Regions from separate parts of the Homo sapiens genome. Here all the other regions are linked to region 4. The links are contacts of gene promoters, found by promoter capture Hi-C in blood cells and fetal thymus (Javierre and others, 2016). All regions are on one chromosome and are shown on one strand. The core of a region is centred on a gene start or on the middle of the fragment in contact, and the rest is flanking DNA. Distances in the headings are between cores, read along the strand shown.

Evidence for each region. The method cuts DNA at HindIII sites, captures the fragments that hold promoters and counts their contacts. A CHiCAGO score of 5 or more calls a contact.
Region 1: a contact is called between a fragment that was not itself captured here and the fragment with the promoter of FANCC in region 4, in 3 of 17 cell types (total B cells, naive B cells and fetal thymus). The highest score is 6.5, in total B cells.
Region 2: a contact is called between a fragment that was not itself captured here and the fragment with the promoter of FANCC in region 4, in 2 of 17 cell types (fetal thymus and M1 macrophages). The highest score is 6.0, in fetal thymus.
Region 3: the fragment with the promoter of LINC00092 here is called in contact with the fragment with the promoter of FANCC in region 4 in 1 of 17 cell types (M1 macrophages); the score reaches 5.1 in M1 macrophages.
Region 5: a fragment that was not itself captured here is called in contact with the fragment with the promoter of FANCC in region 4 in 4 of 17 cell types (naive CD4 T cells, naive CD8 T cells, non-activated CD4 T cells and 1 more); the score reaches 7.6 in naive CD4 T cells.
Region 6: a fragment that was not itself captured here is called in contact with the fragment with the promoter of FANCC in region 4 in 1 of 17 cell types (fetal thymus); the score reaches 6.6 in fetal thymus.

What each region holds. Positions count from the first base shown.
Region 1 is chr9:94,722,222-94,726,010 of GRCh38, reverse strand. No RefSeq gene overlaps it. Among named protein-coding and RNA genes, the nearest start is that of AOPEP, 2.6 kb to the left of the region's middle. The HindIII fragment of the contact is 3,741 bases long and covers 1-3,291 here.
Region 2 is chr9:96,218,105-96,222,076 of GRCh38, reverse strand. No RefSeq gene overlaps it. Among named protein-coding and RNA genes, the nearest start is that of HSD17B3-AS1, 26 kb to the left of the region's middle. RefSeq lists a silencer at 3,629-3,838 and an enhancer at 3,849-3,972. The HindIII fragment of the contact is 1,823 bases long and covers 600-2,422 here.
Region 3 is chr9:96,019,737-96,023,841 of GRCh38, reverse strand. LINC00092 (long intergenic non-protein coding RNA 92) reads left to right here and starts at 2,031. Exons shown (of 2, transcript NR_024129.2): 1 at 2,031-2,257; 2 at 2,561-4,105. It overlaps LOC105376159 (a long non-coding RNA gene), which reads left to right. Exons shown (of 2, transcript NR_188619.1): 2 at 1-582. It also overlaps a transcript of ERCC6L2 not described here. RefSeq lists enhancers at 609-1,109, 2,542-2,591 and a silencer at 2,802-2,851. The HindIII fragment of the contact is 3,638 bases long and covers 1-3,249 here.
Region 4 is chr9:95,315,732-95,320,032 of GRCh38, reverse strand. FANCC (FA complementation group C) reads left to right here and starts at 2,324. Exons shown (of 15, transcript NM_000136.3): 1 at 2,324-2,507. RefSeq lists a silencer at 2,653-2,972. The HindIII fragment of the contact is 1,904 bases long and covers 1,765-3,668 here.
Region 5 is chr9:96,053,508-96,057,805 of GRCh38, reverse strand. No RefSeq gene overlaps it. Among named protein-coding and RNA genes, the nearest start is that of LINC00092, 34 kb to the right of the region's middle. The HindIII fragment of the contact is 2,840 bases long and covers 159-2,998 here.
Region 6 is chr9:96,146,918-96,151,291 of GRCh38, reverse strand. It overlaps the pseudogene EIF4BP3. Among named protein-coding and RNA genes, the nearest start is that of HSD17B3-AS1, 97 kb to the left of the region's middle. The HindIII fragment of the contact is 1,535 bases long and covers 1,107-2,641 here.

The DNA.
Region 1 (3,789 bases), core at 172-2,671, 590 kb after region 4:
GAAGGAAAGGCCGGGCGCGGTGGCTCACGCTTGTAATCCCAGCACTTTGGGAGGCCGAGGCAGGCGGATCACAAAGTCAGGAGATCGAGACCATCCTGGCTAACACGGTGAAACCCCGTCTCTACTAAAAATACAAAAAATTAGCCGGGCGAGGTGGTGGGCGCCTGTAGTCCCAGCTACTCGGGAGGCTGAGGCAGGAGAATGGCGGGAACCCCGGGGGGCGGAGCCTGCAGTGAGCCGAGATCGCGCCACTGCACTCCAACCTGGGCGACAGCGAGACTCCATCTCAAAAAAAAAAAAAAAAGTAGAAGGAAAATAAGTTGCTGAGAAATTAAAGGAAGACAGGTGACCTTTTGATTTGAGATGTCAAGAAAGTGCCCTCTGAAGAGGTTCAGTAAACTGAGAAGCAGCCAACTCTGTGGAGAGCTAAGGAAAGAACAGCCAAGAGAAGAATCTACATGTGAGCAAGCAATAGGGAAGGGGCAGAATGTGGTGCCTTGGAGAAAGTGAGAAAGTAGGTCATGGGAAGAACAGAGGATGAGATCAAGAAGGCAAGGAGAGTCCCCATCATGCACAGACTCTCTGGGTTCCTGTGAGGAATACGAGTTTATTCGAAGTGTAAGGGGAAACTAGTGAAGAGTTATCAACACGTAAGTGACAGGATCTAGTTTTATAACATCACCCTGCTAGCTGCTGTGTATACATGAAACTTTTGAGAAACAATTTAAAAGGATGCAAAGAGAAGAGTTGCTTTTGCAATGAGCAGGTAAGAAATGATAGAAATGGACAAATTTCAGGAATAATTCTGAGGTAGATGTGACAGACTTGGAGATGAGTTTAGATAAGGGAGATAAGGAAAAGAAAAGTGTCAAAAATAATTCTTAAATTTGGGGCCTAAGCAAATAGCTGGATCATATAGCTAAAACAAGGTTTGTTTCACCTCCTTTCAAACTTGATTTCTTTGCTTGTTTCCAAGTCAGTCCTCTAGGTTCTCCTGTCACCTATCTTTCCTCAGTTTCTATCACTGGCTTCCACTTTCCCTTTTCCTGAGCTCTTTTTTCCCTTGGCTTTCTTAGGCTCCATCAGAGGCTGCAAACCCCAAAGCCTACAGCAGCCGGGCAGTTAACACAAAGGAGTGAAGCCCAGGGATAGAGACTGTGGTGATCTGGAGCTCGTGGTCCCTACCACAGCTCTGTTGATTTTTGCCAACCAGGAATGCTGACCCGGTGATGTCAGATCCCCTGCTTAAAAGATAATCGAGGGCCGGGTATGGTGACTCACGCCTGTAATCCTAGAACTTTGGGAGACTGAGGCGGGCAGATCACAAGGTCAGGAGTTCAAGACCAGCCTGACCAATAAGGTGAAACCCTGTCTCTACTAAAAATACAAAAATTAGCCGGGCGTGGTGGTGGGTGCCTGTAATCCCAGCTACCCAGGAGGCTGAGGCAAGAGAATCGCTTGAACCCAGGAGGCAGAGGTTGCAGTGAGTCAACATCACGCCACTGTGCTCCAGCCTGGGTGACAAAGTGAGACTCCATCTCAAAAAAAAAAAAAGAAAAAGAAAAAAAAACACCAATCGATATACAGATATTTACATGAAATCTCACAAATTTTAAACATTGCTCACTAATTCACATTTTATTAAACTTCTGTTTTGGACCAAACAAAACACATCTGCTGTCCATATGAGGCCTGCAGGCCTGCACAAACTTTGCCTCCTTGATGTGTATTTTCCCAGGGTGGTGACTTTGTCTCTTGTCAGGTGACTACCACCTGTAAGTTTGTAAGCTGACAATTCCCAAGTCTATCTTTCCATTCAGACCTGTTTAAAAATTTCTTATTCAGGCCGGGTGCGGTGGCTCATGCCTGTAATCCCAATGCTTTGGGAGGCCAAGGCGGGAGGATCACCTGAGGTCAGGAGTTCGAGACCATCCTGGCCAACATGGTGAAACCCCGTCTCTACTAAAAATACAAAAATTAGCTGGGCGTGGTGGCATGCACCTGTAATCCCAGCTACTTGGGAGGCTGAGGCAGGAGAATGGTTTGAACCTGGGAGACGGAGGTTGCAGTAAGCTGAGATCATGCCATTGCATTCCAGCCTGGGCTACAGGGCGAGACTCTGTCTCAAAAAAAAAAAAAAAAAAAAAAAAAAAACTTATTCAAATATCCAGATTCCACTTAAACATCGGGCTAGCATTTAAAAACCTGAACTCGTCCTCTGTCCCCACCTCCAAACCTGACCTACTCATGTATTTTTGTCTGAGTTAATAGCATCAATATCCACCCAGTCACCCAAGCCTGAAATCCAAGATCATCCTAGACTTGTCCCTCTTTGTCATCCCACAGTCCAATCAGTATTTATCACACCTGCTCATCACCTCCATCCTTAATAACTCTTGCACTGGCTCAAGACTTCATCTTTCTTGGGAAACCTCAGTTTTCTCACTTATAAAATGAGAAGATGGAACTAGAAGATTCCTAAGATGTATTTATTTCCATCTTTATAGCCACCAAACATGTCAGAATAGTTGCCTGGAATTTGGGGTTTTATCTCATTGGGTTTTTTGTTGTTGTTATTTTGCCTGGCTATTGTTATGCCAAGGATATTGTGACCAGGTTGACAGGGAAAACTGGACTTGATAGAAATAAATACAAAATGAAATTAACAGTGGCCAAAACTGAACACAATTTAGTTATAAAATTAAAACTGACTGAAAAATAACTGCTGATTGGTAACATTGAAAACAGGAAAAATTGGCCGGGCGCGGTGGCTCACGCCTGTAATCCCAGCACTTTGGGAGGCCGAGGCGGGCGGATTACGAGATCAGGAGATCAAGACCATCCTGGCTAACACGGTGAAACCTCATCTCTCCTAAAAATACAAAAAAAAATTAGCCAGGCGTGGTGGCAGGCACCTGTAGTCCCAGCTGCTCAGGAGGCTGAGACAGGAGAATGGCGTGAACCCGGGAGGCGGAGCTTGCAGTGAGCCGAGATCGCGCGACTGCATTCCAGCTGGGCGACAGAGCAAGGCTCCATTTCAAAAAAAAAAAGAAAAGAAAACTGGAAAAATTGAGAAAAACAGACATGGTAAAATGTGTCACTTATTTTAAATTGATGAAAAAATCAATAAAATCTTTTTGACAAGATTTAGATCTACAAAGTTTCAGCGGAAAAACAACTGGTCTTGGTTAATTAACCACAAAAGAAAACTCATAATGTCAGAAACTCTAATGACTATAATTTGTCATGAAGTCAAAAAATAATGCTAAATTGTAACTTCAATGGGAAGCTTACATGTAAAAGAACTGGAAATGATTCCAGTGAAAATAATTCTAGTGAAGTAGAAAAATGAGAAACAGTTATATAAATGTTATATAACAGTTTGTATGTAATATAAAATTTAAAACATAAAATATTAAAATGAATTTTTTATAAATTTACAAAATGAAATTTGCTCCAGGACATACTTTTATTGATGCAAATCATTGATGCAAATATAATTTTGATTTAAATGTTTGTGTTTATATATACAAAATCAACACCTCATGGAGTCAAAGTGACATGAGTCAACATCTTGTATTCATTTGGTTACTCCTGAGAATACTAAGTGTTCCACTTGCAAAACTTACATTGATGAGTATTCATGTCGCAAGCAGAGATATACCCCTAAGGTCTGGGCTTAGGAATGTGTACTCCCTAGTGGATATGATTTTCATTAATGGGTTGAGATATGATTTTCATTAGTGACTTTTTTCCCCTCTGATGCTGTCAGCTCCATGAAATCTACTC
Region 2 (3,972 bases), core at 262-2,761, 900 kb before region 4:
GTGTTTCCTGGGGTGGCTGAGGGTATGGGAAGATGGGATTTTTGATGGTCTGACTTTCCGCAAGTGTCCCCTGGTGTTTCCGTTGCTTGGTGTTGATTGTTGGGGTGTAGAGCAATTGATTGTCCCTAAACATTTTTGAGGATGCCTGGGTGTGGAGGACAGTGCTGTTTGTGGACTTTTGGCTGCCCACCTCTCTGCTTTGGTCTGCTTAAACCATTGATTTTCAAACAAGACTATGCTCTAGAATCACTGGGACAAGTTGAAAAATAAAGATTTGCAGGCTCTACTCCTGACCACCTGTAGCCTCTTTCTCCAAGGGGTGCTAAGCCCAGAGACCTGATGTTTGTTGTTTTTTGGGTAAAAATGGTTTTATTGAGGTGACACTGACATATTACATACAATAAATACATATTAAAATTGCCTAACTTGATATGTTTTGAAACTATCACAATCAATCACAATGACTACAATATTGATCACCCCTCACCCTCCCCAACATCCTTGTGCCTTTCGAAATATGTCCTTCCTGCCCCATCCCAAACTCTGGTGATGACTGATTTGCTCTGACACTATAGATTCATTTGCATTTCCTAGAAGCTTATAGGATGGAATCACACAGTAGGCATTCTTCTTAGTCTGGCTTCTTGCACTGAACGTAATTGTTTTGAGAATCACCCATGTTGTTGGCCGGGCACGGTGATTCACGCCTGTAATCCCAGCACTTTGGGAGGCTGAGGCGGGTGGATCACCTGAGGTCAGGAGTTCTAGACCAGCCTGGCCAACATGGTGAAACCCTGTCTCTACTAAAAATACAAAAATTAGCCGGGCATGGTGGCGGGCACCTGTAATCCCAGGTACTCGGGGTGACCAAGGCAGGAGAATCGCTTGAATCTGGGAGGCGGAGTTTGCAGTGAGCCGAGATCGCTCCATTGCACTCCAGCCTGGGGGACAAGAGCGAGACTTCGTCTCAAAAAAAAAAGAAAAAAAAAAGAGTCACCCATGTTGTTGTGTGCACAACATTCCTTTCTTTTTCTTTTTCTTTGTGTGTGTGTGTGTGTGTGTGTGTGTGTGTGTGTGTGTGTTAGGGGGGCGGTTTGGAGTCTTGCTCTGTGGCCCAGCCTGGAGTGCAGTGGCGCAGTCTCAGCTAACTGCAACCTCTGCCTCCCAGGTTCCAGCAATTCTCCTGCCTCAGCCCCTCCTAGAAGCTGGGATTACAGGCATGGGCTACCACACCCAGCTGATTTTTGTATTTTTGTATTTTTAGTAGAGACGGGGTTTCACCATGTTGGCCAGGCTGGTCTCAAACTCCTGGCCTCAGGTGATCCGCCTGCCTCAGCCTCTCAAAGTGCTGGGATTACAGGCGTGAGCCACTGCGCCCAGCCCTTTTTTTTTTTCTCCTGAGACAGGGTCTCACTCTTGTTGCCCAGGCTGGGTGAGCTGAGATTGCATCACTCCAGCCTCGACCTCCTGGGCTCAAGTGATCCTCCTGCCTCAGCCTCCCGAGTAGCTGGGATTACAGGCCTGCGTCACCACACCTGGCTTTTCTTTTTTTTTTTTTTGTAGAGATGGGATTTCTTCATGCTGCTCAGGCTGGTCTCCAGCTCCTGGGCTCAGATGATCTGCCCACCTCGGCCTCCCAAAGTGCTGAAATTACAGGCGTGTAATCTCATCATGCCCGGCCAGTGCATTCCTTTTTACTCCTGAGTAATATTTCTTGGAGTGTCTGTACTACAAATTATTTATTCATTCAGCTGTTGGTGGACATTTGGGTCGCTTCCACTCGGGTGCTATTACAAACAAAGCAATTATGAGCAGTCAGGTTCAAATCTTTGTATAGACAGATGTTTTTGTTTTTCTTGAGTAAATACCTAGGAGTAGAATGGCTGGGTCAGATGACAGGTGTATGTTTAAAATTTTATGAAACTCCAAACTATTTTCCAAAGGAAGGGGGTCATACCATTTTATATTTCTACCAACAATGAATGAGGAACTCAGCCCTCCTAGGGCCCAGTCTGGCGACTGTGACCGTATTCCAGAGGCTTTATAATCCTGTTTTTTTCCTGTGAGCAAAAAAGTTATAAAGGAATGAGATCTAGAAAAGATAGTTCTAGTTGAACCAAAATCTTTTATCCAGGGTGAGGGCATACAAACTGCAAGGGGCCTGGGTGGGGGAGGCAGAGAAGCGCCCGCCTCTTCCGACCTCTCAGGTGCGTGTGAGCCGATGCTCCGCTAGGGGGCGCGGGAGAGCAGGCCGCCCCCCGCGTGACTCTCAGAGCCCGAGGGCTCCCTCCAGGTCCGCTGCCTTCTGCCCACAGGAAGGAGTCACTTTCCCAACTGGCGGGGAGCGGGGGAGTCACTTTCCCAACTGGCGCGGGCGGGTTGGGAGGGGCCGCTGAGCCGCATCTGCCACAGTCACGAAGCTTTCTTAGCACCTCCTGGAGTTCAAGGAAAATCCAGAAGCAGCTCTTTCCTTGAAGGAAGACGTTCACAGCATCGCACCCACGAAGAGGGTGCGGCTTCCCCCTCTCACCCTTCTGGGTCTCGGCCGATCGCCTGGCAGTTGGGCTCGTGGCCCATCCTGCAGGAGGGCGCAGGCATGCATAGCGCCTGCGGAGGAGCGCTGCTCCTACGCCCCAGGCACGGCCCCCGCAGGCCGGGCAGTGACCCCGGTGGCCCGGCCCTTAGGGCGTGCGAGTTGACCGTGCCCCTTCTCCAGGACGCGCGGCCGGCGGCTGGGTTTTCGAACGCGCGGCTGTGAACGGCTCCTTGGCGAGGAGGCACAGCCTCCGCAGGCCGGAAGCCACGCGCCCACCAAAGGCACGAGGAGCAGGGCGGAGAGTACTGCGGGTCAGACGAGCGAGGCCCTCGGGGAGGCGCCCAGAGGAGCGGGGCAGCGCGGCCGCAGCGCGGGTCGGGTCCGCGGACGCTGTTCAGGCCCCACTGTGGGGCTGCTGCCCCTGGGCTGCCCTCCGGCTCGGTGGAGCGCGGGAGTGGGGGTGGGGGCGCCTCTGCTGCTTCCACCCCAGAAACCCGGGTCAGCGTTGGGAGCTGCACTGGGCGGCAGCGGAGAACATTAGAAGGGACAGTGTTTGGGTTAAAATCTAACCCTCGGTCGGGCGTGGTGGCTGAAGCCTATCCAACCACTTTGGGAGGCCGAAGCGGGAGGATCACGAGGTCAAGAAATCGAGACCAGCCCGGCCAACATGGTGAAACCTCATCTCTATTAAAAATACAAAAATTAGCCAGGCGTGGTGGTGAGCGCCTGTAGTCCCAGCTACTCGGGAGGCTGAGGCAGGAGACCCGCTTGAACCCAGGAGGTGGAGGTTGCAGTGAGCCAAGATCGAGCCACTGCACTCCAGCCTGGCGACAGAGCGAGACTCTGTCAAAAAAAAAAAAAAAAATCTATCCCTCATGATCTTGCTTTCTGTGCGTGTGTCTTTGCGTCAGGGGCAGGGAAAGCCTGTAGAGCACACATTGCCTAGTGAGGTCTTTACAACACAGGCTTTAATTATTTTCCTCCTTTCGCAGCTGAGAACAGAGAATTTAAGCAACTTGCCCAGAGTTCCAGAGCCAGACCTTAAAGGTAGGGCTTGTGACTCCGCATTAGGAACGTTCTCCTCCCCTGGATGGACCCGATGCCCCCGCACTAATAATCTTGAGCCGGAATTCAGCAACGCAGTGGTGACATTCAACCTTCCGCCTCACGGAGGCGGTGCCGGCGGGGCAGGGGATGGCCGCCAGGGGGCAGTGTGGCTCCGTGCCTCCGCGCCCGCTCCCGGACCCGCGCCCTGCCCCCACCGGCGCTGAGCCCGCCGGCGCTGAGCCCTCCAGCCCTGCTCCGCGTTCTTAGCAGCGTCGCCAGGCGTGGAAGAGGTTGGACTCAGGGCTACGTCTTCCAGTAGTTAAAAAACGGGGGGCCGAGGCCCCCACAGTTAAAGTGGGCGAGAGAGCAGCTTCCAGCATCTATGGCGA
Region 3 (4,105 bases), core at 782-3,281, 700 kb before region 4:
TCACAATTGTTTCAAGTCTTATCCAAGCCCTGTATATTTCAGATCATCCTTAATTTCTTGTTCTGTACCCAGAGGAGATCAGGAAAACCTTTAAGTCTCTATGTGAGGCAAATACATCCTCCTCACTGCCCCAGCCCCATGTGATTGATGAAGCAACTGAGGAAGAGAAGTAGGGTGCTTCTGGCACTGGAGGAGCGCAGTGCTGAGAAACTCCGGGCTCCATTCGGAAATAGCACTGATTTCTTAGTGTACTTTTTTTTGGTGTTAATATAGAAAACATCAAAAACACAGTTAAAAGAATGAAGCATGTCTACATACGTGTGGCCAGAAAGACTGACCAGAAGCTGGTAGCAGTGAGGGATGACAGTGCTTGCCCCTGGGTTGAATAGTGGAAGAGTTAGGGGGGAAACAGTCTGCTCTTTGAGACCCTTTCAATTTCATGTGATGGATTTACAGAGACAGATGAATTAAACATTATATAAAAAAGGAATAAAACCACTGGTAGGATCTGTATTCCAGGAAGAAAAAAGCATATTACATAATAGGTCAATGCACAGAAATAAAAAAAGGAATTTAACTAGAGCCTATGCTAATCATAAATCCCTTCCCTGTTCCAGAGTCCTGTTGTCTCTGGGGTCTTGGCCTGTCTTATCTAGGCCATGGAGTGGTGGGGGTGGGATGCTGCTAGTTCCTAGGCAGGAAATAGTGGCCAGTTACCCTTGTGGTGTCATTTCTGGGTCCTGGAAAGGAGACCACTGCTGACCCCTGACTCACCAACCAACAATTATTGATGGAAATCCCACCGGCCTCCCCGGACAAAGGCAGCCCAGACCTGGACTCATTCACATGTAAAGGAAGTGGCCAGAAGTGGCTGCTGTTGGCAGGGGTGAGGGACGGGAGAGCGCGCTAAGTGGCCTGTGTCTGTGGGGGAGGGAGAGGGTGGAGCAGCACAAGCCGGCCTGAGGTTAGGAGCCTGCGGTATCTCCAGGAAAGCAGAGGCGGCTGTGGGGGGCGCCGGGGCTGAAGAGCCAAGTGTGGAGACTGCTCCATCTTGCCCATCTCCAGAAACTCAGACCACCCATCCATTAAAGGCAGGTGGATGAGCAAGGGGGCCTCGCAGGCATTCCAGATCACACTGAACCTGTGCCCCACTGCCTGACCCATTCAGCATCCCTATTAACAGACACTCGCTGCCGTCTGGCCCGGACCCGGCTGGCGCTGCGGGTCCTTCCACCCCAGTTAGGAAGGGTCATGGCTCCCGCGGAAGCCCCTGCCAGGGTGAATAAACTCGGCGTGGGGCTGACGGGCTCTGAATTACTCCGTTGCTTACAAGCCGAGTGCCCCTCTGTGCCTCAGTTTCTCCCTCTATAAAACAATACGAATACCGGCCCAGAAGCGTTGTTGGGCAGATTAAACGAGAAAATCCACTGGAAGTGTTTAACAAACGACACACAATACGGGCTTCATACCTGCCAGCCGATGTCCCCTGCAGCCTTTATTCCCTACCCAATTCCCCTTAGCCTGCTATGTGGAGATACAGGAGGCTTGCACCCGCCGCGGTCCCGGTGTATTTTAACGGGCTCCCGGGGAAGCGGTGTGGAAAATGGATTAGGGAGGGAGGAGGCCAGAGCCTCGGAACCCGGGGAGAGGTCTGCAGGCATCCAGTTGGGAGCTGGAAGGGCGGGACAGGGCCCTTGGCAGGGGGATCCAGGAAATATTTTGGAGAAATTCTCTCTAGGACTTGGTAACAGGTTGAGAGCGGCCACTTGGCCGGGGGCGCCGGCTTCGGAGGCGGGAGGGAGGTGGAGGAAGGGAAGGCAGCTGCAGGGCCGACCTGCGGGGTGGGCGTGAGGCCGGGGGATTGGGGCCGCAGGGGTTCGGCCTGGAGGAGCGGCGTGGGGGCGCCGGGGCCCTGATTCCATCCTGGGCGGGTCGGCCCCGCAGCCGCTGCGCTCGGAACCCCCTAGGCGCCCCGCAGTACCCGGCGTCCTTCCTGCCTCCTCCTCGCCCCTGTCCTCCGTCCGAGCCCCAGTCCCGCCGACCCTGCCGGCGCCTCCGCCCTCCCGCCCTCCCGCCCTCGGTTTCCCACGACCTCGGCGCGACGCGCGCGGGATCCAGTGGAGACTGCTTTCCCATAGGCCGCCATCCAGGGCGGGGAAGGGAGCGGACCCTCCCGGCTCCAGGTGCCTGGGCCCCCGGCGGCCTGCGGAGGCCTCGCCCCACGCCACCCGCCCACTGGCCTCGTCTTCGCGCGGGGGTGAGAGCAAAGGAGGCACTCGGCCCATCGCCAGCCCGGGTCCCCTTCCTGCCCGTCGCTATCCGAGAATTTGCCCCGTGTCCCCCAGGCCGCGGGGGTCCGGAGAACCGAGGGGCGGACCCCGCAGAGGGCTGCGCCGCCCTCCCTTCTCTCCCCGCGGGAAGCAGCCCCCAGGACCGCCCCTCGCTCCCTGCCCGGGAGGGACTGGGCTTCCCCGAGGTGTGCGGCTCCTGGAGAACTCGCTTTCCCGTTTCCAGCCGGCCAAGCCATCAGTTAATCGCTTGCTTTCTCTTTTCTTTACAGAGAAAAGCAGCCTGATTCGGAGGAACGGGTTGCTTGGGGCGGCTCCCAGCTCGAGTTGTGGGCCCCGCCGCGGGTGCCCTTCGGAAACGCGCTGACACCAGGCGAAGCCGCCTCTGCCCGGACGCAGCCCGACACTTGGCCCGCGGGGTTCCCCGGGACGCCTGAGAGTAATGGGCGCGAGGGGGAAAGCCGAACGGCCTCCCTGTGCCCGGCGCAGGCGGTGCCCCCTAGCTGGGTTCGCCGCGGCGGCGCTGCGAGCCCCCGACACTGAGGACTTTTGGTCCAACAGTCCGACGGGGCCCGGTGCGCCGTTCCCTCCGCCCTCTCCCCGCTCCCCGGCCCGCGCGTCTTGGAGGGTGGGTGAATTGTCGGAAGCACTCTACGCCTGGCCAACCCAAACCAGGAACCTCCGCACCAAACAGCCCACGTTGCTGCTGCTCTGGGGTTTTAACGGCCAAGGGAGACTGGAGAAGGGGTGTTCTGCCTTCCCATTCTCTTAGGCCCGTCCACTCCCCATCCCCACAGTTTGGAAGTGGCCTTTTCTGAGGACTCCAGCGCAAAGCATGTTTCTCCTTTTGAGCTGCGGAAGCCTTGCTTGTTCCCGCCATTGGGAGGGCATTCCATCATCTGCAGCTGCCTTCCTCGGTGGGCCTTGTCCCTTAGCGTCCACCTAGGGGACATTCTAAGCTTCTTGAGACCTGCTTGTCCACCCCAACATGTCTCAGCATATGGCTGTGCCCTAAGGGGTCTTTGAGGGCATTTTAGGAGGTGAGCGGCGCCCCTACCTGGGCTCCGCGGGGCCGATTCGGTTTGCCCTTTGCTGGCATGTCAGTGAATTAACTGCTGTCCTTGGGATGACCTGCCCTATGATTTGGCCTCTGGAGCATCCCGGGTGTGTATTTCAGAACTCCTCCCATCTTATCCACCTGCTGAAGGCCTGGCCCCCTGATATGGTTTGGCTCTGTTTCCCCACCCAAATCTCACCTTGAATTTTAATAATCCCCACGTGTCATGGGCGGGACCAGGTGGAGGTAATTGAATCATGGAGGTGGTTTCCTGAACGCTGCTCTCGTGACAGTGAGTTCACAAGATTTTTTTTTTTAACGGAGTATCACTCTGTCACTCAGGCTGGAGTGCAGTGGCGCGATCTTGGTTCACTGCAACCTCTGCCTCCCGGGTTCAAGAGATTCTCCTGCCTCAGCCTCCCGAGTAGCTGGGATTACAGGTGCGCGCCATCACGCCCGGCTAATGTGTATTTTTAGTAGAGAAAGGGTTTCACCATGTTGGTTAGGCTGGTCTGGAACTCCTGACCTTGTGATCTGCCTGCCTCGGCCTCCCAAAGTGCTGGGATTACACGCGTGAGCCACTGTGCCCAGCCGATCTGATGCTTTTATAAAGGGCTTTCCCCGTCCCCCTTCCTCTCTCTCACCACCCTGTGAGAAAGGTGCCTTTCTTCCCCCTTCACGTGAACTGCCTCCATGATTGTAAGCTTCCTGAGGCCTCCCCAGCTATAAGGAACTGTGAGCCAATTAAACTGCTTTATAA
Region 4 (4,301 bases), core at 1,075-3,574:
TATATGCTTCCTATTTAGGTCTAATTTAGGCCTAAACATGGTGTCATTTCATATACTGCAAAGTTGGATGAGCCTAGCAATTCTTTATTAACCACTGAACTAAAAAGACAGAAAACTGGGATATGGCAAGACATCAATCATTAACAAACACTAAAAATGATTTTTCAGCGAATATGTAAAAGGATGTGGGTACCAAAATAGATAATTTCTCTCAAGAAATACATACTTTAATTGCTTTCTTTGCTGATAAATGCAGAACTTAAACGTCAACTCACTCTCGATTTGTTACCACAGAGGTGACTTTCTCATGGTCAAGGTGCCACGATGAGTGCCCCTCAGGCATGTATTTCCCTACCCAGGACTTGCTTTTGATTTATCCATGTCACACTATGCACACATCAAAAACACATCGACCTCTCTGCTGTAAAACAGAACGAAATCATGTCCTTTGCAGCAACATGGATGGAGCTGGAGGACATTATCCTAAGTGAACAAACTCAGAAACAGAAAATCAAATATTGCATGTTCTCATAAGCGGGAGCTAAACAATAGGTATACATGTACATAAGAATGGGAATAACAAGACACTGGGGACTCCAAAAAGGGAGAGGGTGGGAAGGGGGTGAGGGCTGAAAAATTAGCTATTGGGTACAATGTTCAATGTTTGGGGGACAGGTACACCAGAAGCCCAATCCCCACCATTACACAATATACCTATGTAACAAGCAAGCACATGTACCCCCGAATCTAAAATTAAAAAACAATCAAAAAGCACCGACTTCCTTAACTGGCATGGAATAGTTTCGAGAATGGATGTAAACACCGAATTCCTTAATGTAGTTGCAGATTCTGCCAGTTTTGTCTCAACCTCTGGATCGGTTCCTTTTTTTAACTACCTTTAATTCTTAAACAGATTGTTGCTATTGCTATGCTATATACTTATTGTATCACTTATAAATGTATAACCTCTGCAAATTAGTCTCTGAATTGAAAGTATTCATTGGTAAAACGGGTATTTCTTCACCATAGGAATAGTTGGACATGTTTAAATACTTGAGAGCTATTTTTATTACAAGCACACACAGCTTTGTGGTGTTTTTTGTTGAGACAGAGTCTCGCTCTGTTGCCCAGGCTGGAGTGCAGTAGTGCGATCTTGGCTTACTGCAACCTTCGCCTCCTGGGTTCAAGCAATTCTCCTGCCTCAGCCTCCTAAGTAGCCGGGAGTACACACTAATTTTTGTATTTTTAGTAGAGACGGGTTTTTGCCATGTTGGCCAGGCTGGTCTCAAACTCTTGACCTCAGGTGATCCACCCGCCTCAGCTTCCCAAAGTGCTGGGATTAGAGGTGTGAGCCACCGCGCCCGGCCTGTAGTGTGTTTTTGAACGTATATGTGAAGTTGTAGCTTTTTTTTTTTTTTTTTTGAGACGGAGTCTCCCTCTGTCGCCAGGCTGGAGTGCAGTGGCGCGATCTCGGCTCACTGCAACCTCTGACTCCCTGGTTCAAGCTATTCTGCCTCAGCCTCCAGAGTAGCTGAGATTACAGGCGCCCGCCACCGCGCCCGGTTAAACGTTTTGTATTTTTAGTAGAGACGGCGTTTCACCATGTTGGCCAGAATGGTCTCGATCTTCTGACCTCGTGATCCGCCCGCCTTGGCCTTCCAAAGTGCTGGGATTACAGGCCTGAGACACAGCGCCCGACCTAAGCTGTAGTTTTATGATTATGATTTATGGTTGTGAGGCATTGATTTAAGACATTTTAAAGCTTAAGTCGTCAGATCCTAGAAGAAAAAAAAATTCACCAAGACAAGCTAATGCCATTGTCATAAATGGGAGTTTGGAGAAAATTTTATTAATATTTGTTTGGGTGGTTTATGTACAGCGTTGAACTGATTTGAACCCCGACCAAACACTGTATGGAACTAATGTACGGTAGGGGAAATCATTAACTGAAGATGCCTTTTTTGTTGCTATTGTTTAGAACGCAGTTAGAAAATCTTATTTTAGAGGTTTTACCCCGTTGACAAAGCCTCAACTTTTCTTCAAAAGAACTAATTTCCATTTTACCTCCCCTACATTTTGAACAGAATATGGAAGAAGCCAGCGCCCCTTCTCCGCGGGCGCTGCTGCAACCCTGCTCCCGCCGGGGCTTCCGCGCGAAACCGGGAACACTGGAGCAGTACCGACTCCGCTCGCCTAGAACCCGCCCCAGCCGGGCCCACTTCCGCCAGAGCCCTGGCCGCGCCCGCCCCGCCCCACGGACCCGAGATTCGTCGGAATTTTCCCGCGACGCCGCGGGAGCGCGCGGGGCCGCTAGCCAGGCCCCAGAATGCACTGCTGACACGTGTGCGCGCGCGCGGCTCCACTGCCGGGCGACCGCGGGAAAATTCCAAAAAAACTCAAAAAGCCAATACGAGGCAAAGCCAAATTTTCAAGCCACAGATCCCGGGCGGTGGCTTCCTTTCCGCCACTGCCCAAACTGCTGAAGCAGCTCCCGCGAGGACCACCCGGTAAGCGGCAGGCCGCAGAACGCAGCGAGGGCGGAGGCTTCCCTCGGGGGTCTGGCCGACACGTCAGCGGCGAGAGCGGGAGGAGGAGGCGAGGGGCAAGAGGGAAGGCTCGCGAGAGCGGGTGGGCCAGGCGCGCCTTGCGGTGGGCGAGAGGGGTTCCCGCCGGCGCAGGGCTGTGGCTAAGGCTGAGGCGGGAGGCGGGAGGCGGGAGGCGGAAGGTGGCGGGCGGTGCCAGCCCGCGGGGCGGGGCCAGGGCGGGGAAAGCGGGGGCGGGAGCCGGCGCTGGGGTCGCGCGGAAGGGAGCCCCCGGAGAGGCGGGAGCCGGGTGTTGGCGTTTTGGTTCTTTTTGTTCATTGAGCGCAGGCAGCTATGTCTTCTTCAAAGGAGAGGAGCAAAGGTGAATTTCTCTGCCTCGGACTCGTGGGAGCCGTGAAAAGCTCGCCCCTTTGAGCCGGTCGCCCTCTACAGCTGGCCTCGTCCTCCCCGTCCCTCACACCCCTGCCCCCAAACCCCATTCGCCGGGGCGCCAGGAGGGGCGAGGTCCAATTAGAGGAGCCCGGGGCGCGGCTGTTACCCCTCCCGCCCTCCGCCTTTTATTCCCGGAGGGAGGCGGGTTCGCAGAGGCCAGTGTCTTCCCTCCATTCTTTTTGTGGACGCCAGGCCATATCTTCAAAGCCCGTGAGAGATTTTTCAGGTGCTGTTTGTTGGTTTGCTCTTTTTAATTTTTTAGGTGGGTGCGTTTACAACTACGAACCCTCTATGATCTTATGTGTCCAGCGCACCGAATGGGGGAAAAGACTTGGAGTTTTATAACATGGGAAATTGGGTACCAGAATCTTAAGGGAAGAGACCAAGGAGTTTTCTAGCAAAGTCCTGTATGTGCCTGGACTTTTGTTCTAATCTGAAACTTGGAAAACTCCCGGGCATCTGATTTTATTCTAACTTGTGCCCCATTTAATGCATCTAAACTGTGATGTGATTTGACTTAGCATTTATCAAATGAGCAGAGCACTTTTGGGCCACCCAACTTCAGCTCTTTGTGGCTGTCACTCACTGTCAGTGATATGCCCTCAGACAGATCGTTTTCTCCTTACTCCCCTGAAAGGTTGTTACAAACAGTAGAATTCATACCATGTGTTGAGATCATTCATTACCTAAGCTTAGATGGAAAACATGTTCATTGCGACTTTATACATTAAACTTGAATTGATGTTTCAATGTTATGTGCTGTACCAGAGTCACCTGGAAATAAGCACTCATATACATTATTCATATACAAGAAAGGCTGCATCGAAAAAGAATTTGTTTTCCTAGATATATCAGAGATCTTTTTCACCAACCCACTACTCCCAGTAATAGAGCCTGCTTCTTGAGAACTGGACTAATTATACTTTGTATATTATACATTCGAATTTATTTTTGCTTTATTCGGTCATATTTTCTCTTGATTTCTCCAAAAACGTTTACCAAGGCATCAGAAAAGAAAAGCAGGCTCTATATTGGTATTTTTTGTTTTGTCCTCTAATAAAAAGCATTAACTTGATTGATTGGCTGGTTGTGGAAGATGTGTTGCTGCATGTATGTGCAACTGTGCATGTACATTTTAAAACAAATGGTACTTTTAACCAGTTCCATATTTCAGCAGGTAGTTCCAATAACAATTATACAAATTTCGTGTTTATGAGAACCAGCTACAGGGAGGCCAGCCTGGCCAGTAGAAAGTTGGATTGATTATCTGGGCCATGGAGAGAGCCAGAGGAAACTCACATGAGTGGTAGTTCCAAGTTGGTAGTG
Region 5 (4,298 bases), core at 329-2,828, 740 kb before region 4:
TATCCTCATGGCATGTGTTAGTCCATTCTTTGTTGCCATAAAGGAATACCTGAGGCTGAGTAATTTATAAAGAAAAGAGGTTTATTTGGCTCATGGATCTGCAGGCTATAGAGGAAGCATAGCACTGGCAATAGCTTCTGGTGAGGCCTCAGGAAGCTTCCAATCATGGCAGAAGGCTAAGGGGAGCCAGTGTGTCACATGGCAAGAGAGGGAGCAAGAGAGAGAAAGAGAGAAGAGCTGCCAGGCTCTTTTAAACAACAGATCTCATGTGAACTCACAGAGTGAGTGAGGACAGCACCAAGCCATTCATGAGGGATCCATCCCCATGACCCAAACACTTTCCACTAGGCCCCACCTCCAGCCCTGGAGGGCACATTTCAGCATGAGATTTGGAAGGCACAAAACACCCAAACCCATATCACATGCTGTCTTGAATGTTGTTGCTCAGGGGTGGAGCCTTTCATGTGACTCATTCCCCCTGCTGATGAGCTCCCAGTCAGGGCCCAGCCAGGTCCTGCCCCTGCCCCTGTGAGAGTGGGGCCTTTTAAAGGTGCTGCTGCCCTGGGTATTAGCACCTGACTATGTCTCTGGCCACATCCTGTGTTTCTTCTGCCTTCCGGCCCTTCTGTTGGTCTTCACAGCTCAGGAGCATCTCCATCAACCCATGGGCATGGCTTCTGAACACCTGGAGCAGTATGAGTTTTGGTGGAGGGCAGTGATCACCCTGACAGCCTGCAGGAGGCAGGGGCTTCCGCCACACTTCCTGATCCCCACCAACACAGGCCTTTGGGGTTGGCTGTACTTGTTCAGCTCTGGTGCAAGAATATAAAAGTTGAGAGACAGAGAAGATATTCCAATAAGAGAAGTTATACCTGAAAGAAAAAGAATATGGCCCAATCCCTCTTAACACTTAGACCACTAGCTGTCAAATATCCCTAGCCTTCCATCCTTTCAAAGGGAGGTCAGAAAAAGATGCTGAGAAGCAAATCCATTCATCCTCGGGAGTATCATGGCTTTAAGAACCTTCCTCAATCTGAAACTTTTCTTCAAAGAGAACGTTTACAAACTCTCTAGAGAACACAATAGAATCTAAAACTGGAAAGACACCTGAAAAGGGGAGAAGATTGCTATCTTCAGGAGAGAAGTACCAGGGAAAAGACACCTCCCAAAAGAGTGCTTTTCACACAAATGAGGGACAGGCAGAGGGCTTGGATTGTATGTCTCCAGAACGAGGTCACTCAGGCGCTTTGCTGGGAAGTGAGAAGACCTTATATGATCTGGGGATGTCTTTAACCAAAGGATCACTGGCGATGGTTATGGACACAGAAAGCGTTGGCTAATCTATGTCATCTGGAGCCCAGCTGGAAGGGATGCGGGTGCAGGCAGAGAGTCCAATGACACCCTGAAGGGCCTCTTTGTTTCCTAGACTAGGAAACAGCATTATCATTTTGCAAATAGGAAGTGAAACATAAGGAAGGCAGAGACCAATGCCTGGCTGAAGTTGTAAGATCAGAATTCCAGAATCTGTACCAGCACTATCACCACTAGCCCCACCCTTAGAGGTAAGGGAGAGGGCACAGAAGGGAAGAATGTAAAGCCATAGAGAAAAGGTCATGGCACACAGGGCTGGCTTACACAGACCTGCCATGTCCAGAGAGGCTCATCTCAGGTCCCCAGTCTTCTATGCTGAGACGCTGGGGCCAGTCTTTTTCCCCCCCTTGCCTTTAACAGTGCCTTATTTCCAGTAAGCACTAGGAGAGTCCAGGGCTGCAGTGAGGAATTGAAGAGTGGACTTGAGGGTCTCCTTTGCACAAGGATCAAAGAATGCAAGATGGCGAGGGCCCCTGTGGCTGTGCTCTGTGGTGGTCCTGGGGCTTCAGTCTGTTTCTAAGGTGTTGCAGGCAGGGATTTTCTTTCATACCATAACATTTTTTTTAGATGATAAATACATGTTCATTTTAAAAATGTGTTAAATCAAGTTTCACCTGAAGCTGCCTCCTTAGCTATTTTTAGTTTGGCCTAAAGGTTTTTCTGTACATCGTGAACTATAACAAGTATAGGTGTAAACAGACCTTAGCCTCCACTTGTACTAATCACCGAGTTTTGGCCAATCAAATGTAGCTGTTTGAACTCTATTCAAATAAGGCAAATGCCAAGCTGTAACCAATCTGGCTGCTTCTGTGCCTCACTTCTGTTTTCCGTAGGTCACTTTCCTTTTTCTGTCCATAAGTCTTCCACCACGTGGCTGTGCTGGAGTCCCTGATCCTACTCTGGCTGGGAAGGCTGCTCCATACCTGAATCACTCATTGCTCAATTACACTCCTTTAAATTTAATTCAGCTGAAGTTTTTCTTTTATCAAATGCAAATAAGCAAAAGGATAATGACAGTTACCTGGAATCCCACCTGCCAAGTTAACTATTTGTGTCATTTTCATACCTTTTCTTCATGACTTAAAAATACACACATGCATGTACACACACACACATATGATTTCTTCAAAAAATGGCATCTCACTACAATGCTCTTTTGTAAGTTTTTTTTTTTTTCATTCAGCTATATATGACGAATATCTTCCCATGTCAACTGGAGTCTTCCACGCATCCTTGTTTAGGCTGCTGAATGTTCCCTCCAATGGATGACGCATCTCAACCTTCTAGTGACGGTGCACCAGACTAATCATTATAAGTTGAGCAACACATTTTTGCCTCTCTTGCACACAGTTTACAACTTTTCTCAATGAAACAGAGGCCTAGAAAAAGGAGGACCAGCAAAAATAGTGGTCCCATGCCAGGCAAACACTGAATCCTGTTTACGAATTCCTTGTTTTTGATGGTTCCCTTAAGCTCCAGTGAAACCTATGGCTTCCCTGAAATAGATAATACTTAGTGATCTGCAAGGTATAGCATTGCTATATAGTTGTTACAATAATAATAATAGTACTGTTATTATACATTAAGTTCTGGGCTTTGAGTCTATAGTGGAAACCTATAAGAAGCTTTAGAATTACACAAAGCGGTAGGCCTGCTTCACATGAGCCACAGATGTGCTCCTGAGAGTTTGGGACAATCTAAGTGTTTAATGGCTCAAATCATACATTTCCACTTAAACTTGGTGATATGGTTTGGCTCTGTGCCCCCACCCAAACCTCATTTTGAATTGTACTTCCATAATTCCCACGTGTTATGGGAGGGATCCGGTGGGAGATAATTGAATCATGGGGGAGGTTTCCTCCACATCGTTCTTGTGGTAGTGAATAGTCTCACAAGATCAGATAGTTTTATCAGGGGTTTCTGCTTTTGTGTCTTCCTCATTCTCTCTTTGCCTGCTGCTGTCCATGTAAGACATGACTTGCTCCTTCTTGCCTTCCGCCATGATTGTGAGGCTTCCCCAGCCACGTGGAACTGTAAGTCCAATTAAACCTCTTTCTTTTGTAAATTGCCCAGTCTTGGGTATGTCTTTATCAGCACTGTGAAAATGGACTAATACACTTGGAAATGGCTAAGTTCCCTTTTTAAATTGGTTTTCAATTTTCCCTGCTCTTAATACTTTAAAATTCTCCCAAGAAGTTAAGGCTGGGTGAACATTAAACCTTCCAGAAGAACATGCTAAAGGGTCGTCCACGTGCAGAGAGTCCTTGTGTGCTGCTTCTGTCACCCCCAGACCCACTGTCCACCTGCCAGCCCCCTTCTGCCCTGGAAGCCTGCCCTGCATGGCTGCATGGACTGCACTCTACAACTCCTGGGCCCTCTGGCTTCTGGGTGGGTTTGGCCAGGGGCCGGGGGAGCCCCAGCAGGAGTTCAGGGGGAGAGAGGAAGGTGAGGCTTCTCATTGCTCTGCATCCCCCGACTCTGTAAAATCACCTGTGGAGGGGCTGTCCTCCTCACAACTTTCTCCTTCCATGTTTCAGTTCTGATAACCTCTCCCTCCCTCACCCCGCTGGATCTGGTGCGAGTGACAGCTCACCTGCTGTGGCCTGGGGTTCCTGCATGGCTCCCCTGCACCTGCCCACACCTTGTAGGTAGTCCGTATATAGAGAAACTCTCCTCTATGATGCTAATTTGAGTGTGCCTTCTGCTTCCTGTTGGGACCCTGCCTGATAAGGTCTGGAGAGTTTAGAAATCCTTTGACAGGAGAATGTGCCTTACCTCAATTTACCAGCAGCTTGAGGGCTTGAAGCCAGCAGAAGCTTTGCTACTTCTCACAAAGTCTCTGCAGAGTTAGGGATAAGGGCACATGAAAGAGGCCGCTCACAACCTAGACAATTTCTACTTTCCCACCTGGCAAGAAAATTCACTTC
Region 6 (4,374 bases), core at 625-3,124, 830 kb before region 4:
CAAAGGGTAGGGATTACAGCCTTGAGCCACTGCACCTGGCCTTATTTAAGAATTTAAATCATGTTTCAGTTTTCATTTAAGAACTTTAGTAGTTAAAATTGTATCTGATTTTTTGTTTTTAAATTGATGCATAAGACATGCATATTTTAGGGATACAAGTGGTAATTTTATATATTTGTGTAATTCATACAGATCGAATCAGTGTACTTGGAATATCCATGCCTTAAATATGTATTTTTCCTTGATGCCAGAAACATTTGAATTAGTCTCTTCTAGCTATATGGAAATGTATCTAGATTATTGTGGACTGTAGTCACCCTACTGATCTATCAAACAGCAGGTCTTATTTCCTCTATCAGACCAGAGGTTTGTACCCAGCAGTGACATTTTAAAGCTTAATATTTATAGTGTGATAACAGTGACCTCTCAGCACCGTCACCGGGCAGGGTGCTCCTGTGGTCACTGTTTTCAGATCTGCAGTGGAAACAAAAGTCCATTTCCAAGAAACCAGTGGGGCCGTACAATATGCTTTGGTAGCTAGCTTAGTCAGCACCAGATTCCGCAGAAGATGCTGGTGCCTGAAGCAGATCAATGGGACGGGTGCCACGGTGGGTTACCGTGTAAGAAGTAAATGTAGCATGTGAGTCAGCTTTCCTTCCTTTAAGCCAGTGGTTCTAGGGGTGATTCTGCCCCCCCAGGTGACATTAGGCAATGTCTGGAAATTGGGGGAGTGTTGGGACCAACATCTACTGGGTTGAGGTCAAGGGTGCTGCTAGCTTTTTATGATGCACAGGACACTCAGCCCCTTACAACAAAGAACCACCTAGTCCAAAATGTCAATAGTGCCAACCACAGTAGAGAAACGCTGCTCTAAACATAGACACAGTAGTCTCCCTAGCTGTGGTTTTGCTTTCAGCCGTTTCAGTTACCCACAGTCAACTGTGGTCTGAAAATCGGTGAGTACAGTACAATAAGATACTTTGGGAGAGAGAGAGAGACCACATTTACATAACTTTTATTACAGATACTTTTATCATTGTTCTATTTTATTATTAGGTATTGTTGTTAATCTCTTAGTGTCTTAGCCTTAATTCATAAGTTAAGCTTTTTCATAGGTATTTATGTACAAGGAAAAATGTAGTACAGTTGTTCGTCTGTATACCTGAGTTCTCACCCCTTGAACACTGTATTCTTGGTCCTGGTTTCGTTAAAAGAGTCTAGGTATTACTGCAAGGGTCTGGTGAGGGCTAGACAAACATCCCTGCAGAAGGATCGGTATCACAGGGACACTAACCCAAGAGGCCAAGTCTGTCCTGGCGTCAGGAAGGGTCCCACTGGGGAGAAACAAATGGTTTCACACTTCAAACGTTTTCAAGTGGGAACGTGAACCACCCGTGCTGTCTGACAACCTGTGTTGTATATGTAGGGTCCATACTATCTGCAGTTTCAGGCATCCATAGGGGGTCTTGGATTGTTCCCGCAGATAACGGGGGACTATTGCAATTGCTAACATCAAGTGTTCTCCTTTCCCTACCACCTGGACTTGAAGATGGGGTTGCAGGAAATGCAGCAGCCCCGGAAACAGAAGCTGCGTGCTCTGCTCGAGGAGCCTTCTGGACGCTTCAGCAGCAGTCTTCAGATTGCTGCCTTTCCTCAGTCATCTTCATTTCCAATAATTTGCATGCATTTGAGGGAAAAATTGTCCTCAAGTGTTGGATCTAAAAATTAACAGTGGAGCACTGGAATAGGCTTTTAAGCTAACACTGTGTCTCTAAATGTCCATGCTCCTCAGCGCTCCTTGCAAGCAAGTTAATCCCAGCACCTTTCCGGCTAGGAAAATAGGAGGGTCTAAAGCAGGCTGAAGAAGAAAATAAGTGCTTGCCTCCCAAAGTCCATGGAGTAGGTCACTTCTTCAGCACATTCCAGCAAATGAGCTGCGTTCTCTGCAAGCAATCTTATGCCAAATTGGCATTGCTTCCCACATGGTACAATTTTAAGACTTTTTTTGTTCTTCAAGCAGCCTTTGAACACGGAATAGCTACTGTTCCAGTTTATTGGAACATTTTGTAAAATTACATGATAAGCCGGTTCCAAAATCTTTTCTATGTCATGTAGTTTATCTTTGGATAAAAAAGAATGATGAAAGCAGCCCACTTGCTGGAGATTACAGGCAGCAATTCTGTGCCATTATTGCTTTCTCAACACACAGCTGAAGAGTGTGAACAAATCATAGGACGCTTGTGATTCCCAAGTCACTTGTAGCCATCACCATGTTTGTTCCATTGCTGGAGACAATTGCCCAACACTTTACTTGATGGACTTTTCATTTCATAAATATTTCTCCAATAAGATTCCTTTTACTGGGAAGAACCAAAGCCTCTTGGCAGCAAAATAAAGATGAGCGCACTCAGCCTCACCATTAATCCACCAGGCTGTCAAACTGATGGAAAGAATACAAAAGCAGCACATTTAATAACACCATTAAACTTTGTGCATGCAGCAGCATGTCATGCAGGAAGAAAGCATTTCGATAACATGGTTTCTGGAAAGAACTTTGTACCTGATCACTTGAGTAAATTACAAAAGTTCTTTGTCTTCATCCACTGAATACAGTTGTCAGTGGGTAACATTTTGAGAAGCTTTTTGTTCAAACATTTGGTTTCCACAGAACTGAAATGTGTTTTGAAAGAATTCATGTGAATTCTATTGTTTTGAATTTGGCTAGTGAAAATGTACATTGTGGGTGCCACGTTTTTCCTGAGTACCTCTTCATCCTTTTATACCCTTTGTTATAACTGGATCAATCATAATTTTCCAGGTATCTGTTGCGATTATTTTGGACTTATTTTCCTCCTTATGAAATTTTGAGGTGACAAAGATGATATGCTGCTTGCCATTTATAGATAAGAATATCTAAATCAGGGGTGTCCAATCTTTTGTCTTCCTTGGGCCACATTGGAAGGAGAATTGTCTTGGGCCACATATAAAATACTCTAACACTAATGATAGCTGATGAGCTTAAAAAATCGTAAACAAATCTCATAATGTTTTAAGAAAGTTTACGAATTTGTGTTGCACCACTTTCAAAGCCGTCCTGGGCCACATGCAACCTGCTGGCTGTGGGTTGGAAAAGCTTGATCTAAGCAGAATATTTTCTTGAAAGACTAATGGCCTATGTGAAATTAAGGAACTGAAAATTAAATGTAGATCTTAAAGTTTGTTTAAGTTAATATTATCAATGCACCCATTCAAATAATTCATCAAATATTAGAATTATAGTATAATCTAGTGATTATTTTCCTCCGTATTACTGAAATTTTTTTTTTTTCAGGAGATGGTGAATTTTATTTTGTCTTGTCTGGATAGAGGTTTTGATTTGCTCTCGAATGTTCCAGGGTGGAGAGAAACTAGGAGAAAAGCACAGGATGTAGAGGTCTATTCGGCATAATCTTCTCCCTCATTTTCATCTTCACCATCAACAGAGAGAGCAGCATACTTGCTTGCAGAACTGAACTTGGAAGCTGGATTTTCCTCAGGTTTCTTTGGCTCAGGTGCAGATCTGGAGTCTTGATCCTTTTTGCCATCTTTCCTATCTGACTCCTTCCAGTGGTCTTTGTTCCCTCCATCTCCTGGACCACGGCTAGAGTTCCCAGTTTGGCCTTTTGGGACATTCATCCCATCTACTTTGTTTTCATCTTTCCTTGCTGGTCCTTCCTCAGATGGTTGAGCTGGAGCTACTTTTCCCTCACCACTTGTAGGGGATTGCTGCTCTGTGTCTGAGCTCTGAGATCGAGCAGGAGGGTTAGAACTTCGCTTCACCCAAGCATTCTCCTTTGGTGGAGGGGCTGGCATTACCTTTAGGGGCTGATCAGGTTTGGGAGGTTTAGAAGTTGGAGAGTGGCAATCTTCCTCCTTATTGAGTGTTTCATTTTCTAGAGACTTCTCATTCTCTCTCCTTCGTGCATCCTGGGCTGACTTACTTCTGCCAGATGTGGTGGAGGTCCCAGTCTGTGATGACTCACTTCCTGTCCTCGACCGTTCCCGTTCCTGAGTTTCTTCACTTCGCCAGCTTGGGTGTCTCTCCGGAGGCCGTCGTTCTAGTTTTGGCTCATCCAGCTGATGCTGCAACTTCTCTTGTTCCTTCTGTAGCCGTTCTTCTACTTCTCTTTCTCTAGCAGCTGTGTCAACGGGCTTTGCCCCTCCAAAGATAGAAGCAGCTCGAGTGGACTGGGAGGTACTAGCAGAGGAATCATCTTCCTTAGGAGTACTCCGAGGGTTTAGATTCAGTTTGGGTCTTTGGGGGGGACCTCTACCATCACGCCTATAATCATCCAGAGAGTAATCATCTCTGGAGCTCCAAGACCGATCATCCCG